Regions from separate parts of the Homo sapiens genome. Here region 2 is linked to region 1. The links are contacts of gene promoters, found by promoter capture Hi-C in human tissues and cell types (Jung and others, 2019). All regions are on one chromosome and are shown on one strand. The core of a region is centred on a gene start or on the middle of the fragment in contact, and the rest is flanking DNA. Distances in the headings are between cores, read along the strand shown. Region 1 holds the start of RORC (RAR related orphan receptor C). Region 2 overlaps S100A10 (S100 calcium binding protein A10).

Region 1 (3,453 bases), core at 347-2,846:
TGAAGAGGAAGGCCTCCCTTCTCTGCTGCTGCTGCGTGGCCGGGTCTGGGTGGAGATTGGGCAGTAGGGAGCATGAGTGGGTCGATGGGGGTCACATGGATACTCGGACCTCCAGGGGGAGCAGCCGTTGAGGGGAGGGCCTTAGCTGGAGCATGGTTGGTGGGTGGGGGGGTGTCACCCATTCATGCAGTTAACATCTATGAAACACCTAGCCAGGGAGCCCCTGGAAAGAGGATTCCCCTGCCAGACCTTGGCCCATTTCCTACATCCACATAGCAGCTCATCACAGAACACATGGCCAGTCTTTTGTCTCAGAAAGCCCTTCAACCATGCCCTATACCCCCTATAGCTTCCCTAACCTCTGACTCTATTCTGTTATTTTTTTCCTTCTGCTGTTCAGTCTTGACACCTGACATACACACACACACACACACACACACACACACACACACACACAGTGCCCTTCTGCCCGGGAGATGCTCCCCACTGGCAGGCCGTGGTCACTAGGCTGTGTGGAGGCGAGTGGCCTGATGGCCTGGGCTCTGCTGGGGTGAGGGAGGAGAAAAGACTGCCCCGAGGTGGCAAGGCCCCACCCAGCCCCGCCCACCTCCCCTTGCTCCTGCCTGGCCCCACCCAGCTTCCTCCCTGACGTGGCACCGGCTCCTGGCCTCTAGCCTTGCACCTCAGAGCAGTCCTGTGGTGGGGGTGCTCCCCTTGCTCACCCAGGCAGCCAGTTCTTCCTCCACCAGGTGGCCCTGGAGCTTGGTGGCTCTGGCCCTCAAACTTTCCTCCTCCATGCTCACAGCTGACCAAGCCTGTGGCCCTGCGATCCTGCTCTGAGGGGGTTCCTGACTTGGACCATGGGTGGGGCCAAGGACGGCCTGACATTCTGTCCTTCCCTGCTGATGGCCCAGTGCCCCACATTCTCTGCAGAGATGAAATCCCACATCCCTGGGTGAGTGGCGAGGAAAGGACCAGGCTACGTGGTCATGGGCAGCTGACAGGGTGTGGTTCCCCCTGCCACACTCCCCAAGTCTGTCACTCCTTAAAGGACAGGTTTCTCCACTGGTGAATGAACAGAAGGTGGAGCAGCCAGCCTCCCGGCCACTGCTGTCTGGGGTCCTGGCCAGATCAAGGAAGCAGTGTCCCTGTGCCTCCTGGGGGGTAAGCCCACACCTGGGAGGGCCTGTCCACATTCTGACCCCTCGCTGGGTCTAGATCTGGCTCCCCTGACTTGGCTCTTCCCTCCCCATCTACCCTCCAACCTGTTTCTTCCTTCTCCCGCTTCTCCCTTTCTTTCCTGTTTCTCTCCTTTTGCGATTTCTTCTCCTCTGTCATCTCCCCAGCCCCTCCTCCTGTTTCTCCTCCAGTTTCACTCCCTGCCAACCCAGGGCTTTCTCCTCTGCACTCTTGTCCCTCCCTCCCCTCCTCACTTCTTGCCCAGTCTCTTGCCATTTCTGCCCTCCTCTGAACCTCCAGCAGTCTCTTCCACCTGCAGGCAGGGCCATGGGCCTCTTACCCCGTGAGGCTCGGTGCTGTCTCTGTGGGGCCCTGTCCATGGGGCAGCTCCCTTGGTGCCGTCCTGGCTGCCCTGGCTGCCCAGGAGGGCAGGGAGCAGGGCCCAGGGGAGGGAGGAGGGCGGAGGGTGGAAGGCGGGAGCACCTGGCCCTCCAGCAGGCAGGGAAAAGGAGTGGCTGGCAGAGTGTCCTGGCACCAGGAGGGGACATGAGGAGAGACCAGTGGACCAGTGCATGGAGCCTTGAGGAGAAACAGGACAGGAGAAAGGAAGGGAACTAGCATTTATTAATCACTTACTGTGTGCTGGGCCCTTTGCAGGACACTTTATGTAAATCCATGCTTTTACTTTGTGTAAATATTCACAGCACCCACCACAGGGAAACATTATTATTCCAGATTGATCAGTGAGTGGAGGGATTCTCAGAGATATTAATGATTTTGCCCAAGGACTCACACAAGAACAATAAATGGGTGAGCTATGATTTGGACCCAAGTCTTTGTGACTTTAGAATCCTGTGATTTCTACCTAAGACAGGTGACAGGCATAGGGGAGATGGAGAGGGCAGGTTTGGGGGACTGTGTCTCTTCTCTAGGATGCAGTCAGACTCCTCCCAGTGACTGTTCAGTTCCCTGAGGCCTCTGCCTGCTCGGCCCCTGCCCCTAACCCTTGCTGCTCTTGCCAGGACTCCCTGACCCCCTGATGCTTCTACGTGCTCCTCATCTGTTGGGGCAAGGGGCAGGCCTGGAGGAGTGCCTGGAGGCAGAGAAGCCATGGTGGGGAAGAGGAGAGGAGAGATGCTGCACTGGACTCATTGGGAGAAGGAGAGGCTCCCAGACCTAGTGGCCCACACTGAGGCCTGCAGTGAAGGCTCTGAAGGGGGCCAAGAGGACGAGGCTTCTGGGGATCCTGGTGCTGCTTTTCTCCTGCATGGCCTGGGCCCAGAGTTTGATTAGCTGGGCCTGACTCTCCTGGTTACCCAACAAGCAACTGGCCAGGGGCCAGGCTGCAGCAAGAGGCTCCCTGGCACCTCCTCCTGCTCTCGTTCCCAGCTGGTAAACAGCAGAGCAGGAGTCAGCCATGCCACAGCCTCGTGACTCGCCCACTCCCCCCCACCTGGTGCACGTGGCACCTGGCATGGAGAGGGCAAGCAGCTGTCCCTTCCCTCTTCTGCCGTCTCGTCTCGCCATCCTCCACTCCTGCCCAACCCTGGAGCTTCACACTCTGCTACCATCAGCACCTCTGTTCTTAGGTAGCTCCCAGAGTCTCCCCATGGCTGCAGATTGAGAGATAAAGGTAGAAGTGGAGAAGGACTTTTCAACTCCTAGGGTCATTGACAGTGGATGAGTAGTGAGAAAGAGGAGGGGAAGTTTTGGGGACCTTCTGCACTGAGTCTAAGGGTATGTGCCTATGCCTCTGAGGCTCTGATTATCCCCCGTGTTCTTTTGGTAAATGTGGGCCCACGCATCCATGTATGCATCTCTGCACAGAACAGGATGTTGGTCTGTTTGGGGGCTCTGCACCTTGGGCAGGTTTGGAGTGAGAGGTAAAGTGCTTTGCAGCTCCCTTCCCCCCCGCCCCCCCAGCACCCTCCAGCTGACAGGAGGAGCCAGCAACATGCCGGGCGTGGGAGTGCAGGGGAGATGCCGTTCTGCTCCCCTCCTCCCCAGAACTCCTCAGTTATCCCCCATCTCTCTGTCTCTCTTTGCTGGCTCCTGCCTGTCTGTGGCTCTTCTCCAGCTGTCCCCTCTCTATCTTTTCTCCTTTTTAGGCCTCTCTTCCTCTTGACTCTGGGTCTCCCAGGGGCCCTTCGTGACTACCTCTTCTACAACCCACCAATTGCAGGCACAGAGTGGAGGTCACGTAGAATGCTTGCGGATGGACACAGAGCATCCCCAGACACTGCAGGCACAGCTGACTCCCCAGTTGTGCCACTT
Region 2 (2,966 bases), core at 217-2,716, 160 kb after region 1:
GCTTTGCTCTTGTTGCCCAGGCTGGAGTGCAGTGTTGTGATCTTGGCTCACTGCAACCTCCGCCTCCCAGGTAGCTGGGATTACAGGCGTCCGCCACCATGTCCGGCTAATTTTTTGTATTTTTAGTAGAGGCGGAGTTTTGCCATGTTGAGCAGGCTGGTCTCAAACTCCTGACTTCAGGTGATCCGCCCACCTCGGCCTCCCAAAGTGCTGGGATTACAGGCCACTGCGCCCGGCCCAGTGTTCCTCTTTTTAACTGACAAAGCACCTACTGAAAGAACAGATAGTTCATAATTTCTCTTGGCACTAGTAAATGGGATTCTTAGATATGGCTGATACTAACAATCCACACAGTCAAGTCTGGTAAATACGAAAACTTCACCCTTCTAAGCTTAAAGTGGTAACTTGGTTCAGTGTGATTCTAGGGTTTAGAAATCTGCTTACAAATGAATTTATCTGCTGGGTATATATGTATTCTTTTTTTTTTTTTTTTTTTGAGACGGAGTCTTGCTCTGTTGCCCAGGCTGGAGTGCAGTGGCGCCATCTCGGCTCGCTGCAAGCTCCGCTTCCTGGATTCACGGCATTCTCCTGCCTCAGCCTCCCGAGTAGCTGGGACTACAGGTGCCCGCCACCGCGCCCGACTAATTTTTTTGTATTTTTAGTAGAGATGGGGTTTCACCGTGGTCTCGATCTCCTGACCTCGTGATCCGCCCACCTCGGCCTCCCAAAGTGCTGGGATTACAGGCGTGAGCCACTATGCCCGGCCTATATGTATTCTTTACTAAAGCTCTGAACTTGTTATTTACTGCAATAAAGACAGTTGCATCTCTGGCAGTAAAATACAGTTGCTCTACCCAAACAGAAAACTACTCAAAGTCCATTGTCTAGTTCACTTGAGAAGCAACAAGTAATACTATAACCTAACTCATTTGAGGGCCTCCTATGTTTTTAGTGACATTAGACAGATGAGCTGCTCTCACAGTCTGGGGTACAGTGGGAAAGCAAGAGCTTTCATCATGAAGCGTTTATAAGAAAGGAAAGGAAACATGTCAGATCATTACATTTGGGTATAATGAACTAGGGGTATATGTCTCACAAGACCCAGTACGTGGTACTTAATAGAACCTCAGTGAATTTTGGCTTAATTGGAAGGAATCATTTGGCGAGAACAGATAAGCTTTGGCTAATATCACCTAAAATCACTACTGGATAGGAAACAGGTGAACGTGAATGGAGACTGTAATATAGCACTAAAAAATAAAAATAAATAATCACAAGAATAGGCTTTGAGCTTAGATTGAAGGGCTGGCAAATTCCTCTGCTGAAGAGCTCTAATGGGAACCTGAGACATGCTTTGGTCTGGTTCCTATCTCTGAGAGATGCCTGTTCAACACTGATTCTCAAATGCTATCTTTTACAGAGGAGAAGGTGGAGTGGGTAAACATGAGGATTGAGCAATTAACACTTAAGAATTGTAAATTCTACCCCTTAATCTCCAGAAAAGTATGGGAACCAGCAGGCCAAAGAATGCTATAAATCAGAATCTGGCATGAGTCATCTGAAAGGCAGTTAGTTATCTTGGAGAGAGCTGCAAATTAATGCTTCAAGGTCTGCTGTGAGATGAATTCCAGGGGAACCACACCCTTTTCCTTCTCTTCTGACACAGCTCAGATCTGGCTCATCCCCCATCCCTCATATGGGTTTCAGATGGCAGTGGGCTTACAGAGAGTCTGCCTTGCCTGGACTGGTACTCCAAGTCCAGCAATTTAAGAGAACTGAACTGGGCGAGTCACCTCTGGGAGAAGGACGTGGGATCCCACCCCAGTTCTTAAATAACTCAGGAAAGGAGTCAGACACCACAGAGGTTTAAAAATACCTGTGCTCAAGTTCAGAGCAGCAGAGCACTTCAGGATCAATTCCCAAAGATCCCAGAAATTGGAACTGGGTGGGGTACCTAGTTTACTTTTTTCAGATGACAGGACAGAAGGAAAGTGCAGAATTAAGAAAGGGAATGCAGCAGGGTAAGGACCTCTAAATTTTAAAAAGGCTAATTTTAGGAGGTTCTAAGAAATACAAGTTGTCAGCTGAGGAAATCCTGGCCACCCTTGAGTATCTTCTTCAGGAGAGCAAGGTGAGTCTACCTCACACTGTGTGAGTGCTTAGGTCTGAAGTCACTCAGTCGCATGCCTCTCTTGCCCACAGCCATTACGAAGTGACGGAGCTTCCTTCTCTGAAGTTACATCCTTCTCCCACTTGGTCTTCCCCTCCCCTCCTCCCCCAGCGGTTTTATTCAGTGGATGGATTGTGAATATTGCAGCCAGCTGACTCCCTGTGTGTCCAGTAGGCCTTCTGCAATAAGGATGCAGAGGAGGGAGTAGCCAGGAGGTGAAAATAGCATTGAAAATCAGTGGAGAAGCCCTTGTCTCCTCAGCAACCAGTACCCCAAAGGGCACTGACCAGGGCCACAGCAAGGAACTCTGTTTTGGGGAAGGAGTTGCACACTGGCTTTAAAATAAGACAAAGGAAAGGGGGAAATGTTGTGATTAAAACTCTGTTCTCTTGGCTAGAGGATGAATCATGTAACTCTTGTCTGAGTGCAGCCAATGGTTGCCCAACTGAGTCAGCCCTGCCTGGCCCTCCGTTCTTGGGTGGGGCTTGCCTGGGCAGGGCTGTCTGCAGCACTGCTAGCTGCCAAAACTGAAGTTCTTCAGGGACTTCAATCTGGCATTTCCACCCTCACGTAGCCACTCTGCAAGCTCTATTCCTGGACAGATGTGGGCTTCCTGCATCCTGGTTAGACACATTTTGACAGGAGGGCCTTGGGGCTGGGGCTGAGGGGCTGCAGTGTCCTCTCTATCCCCAATAACGTACTCTTGCACCTGAAACATTCAATTTCATTTAATTGTTTACTTGTCTGCCTGAGATTTAAGCTTCTCTTGATTAAGAACTACAAATTATTCTGCTTT

Evidence for each region. The method cuts DNA at HindIII sites, captures the fragments that hold promoters and counts their contacts. A contact is called where the count stands out against the background at its distance.
Region 2: a contact is called between a fragment that was not itself captured here and the fragment with the promoter of RORC in region 1, in 1 of the 25 tissues and cell types used here (IMR-90 fibroblasts).

The regions. Positions count from the first base shown.
Region 1 is chr1:151,830,206-151,833,658 of GRCh38, forward strand. It overlaps RORC (RAR related orphan receptor C), which reads right to left and starts at 1,597. Exons shown (of 11, transcript NM_005060.4): 1 at 1,520-1,597. The coding sequence starts at 1,559. RefSeq lists an enhancer at 218-905. The HindIII fragment of the contact is 16,173 bases long and covers 1-3,453 here.
Region 2 is chr1:151,987,062-151,990,027 of GRCh38, forward strand. The region is part of intron 1 of S100A10 (S100 calcium binding protein A10); the gene reads right to left. Among named protein-coding and RNA genes, the nearest start is that of S100A10, 5.3 kb to the right of the region's middle. The HindIII fragment of the contact is 5,250 bases long and covers 1-2,966 here.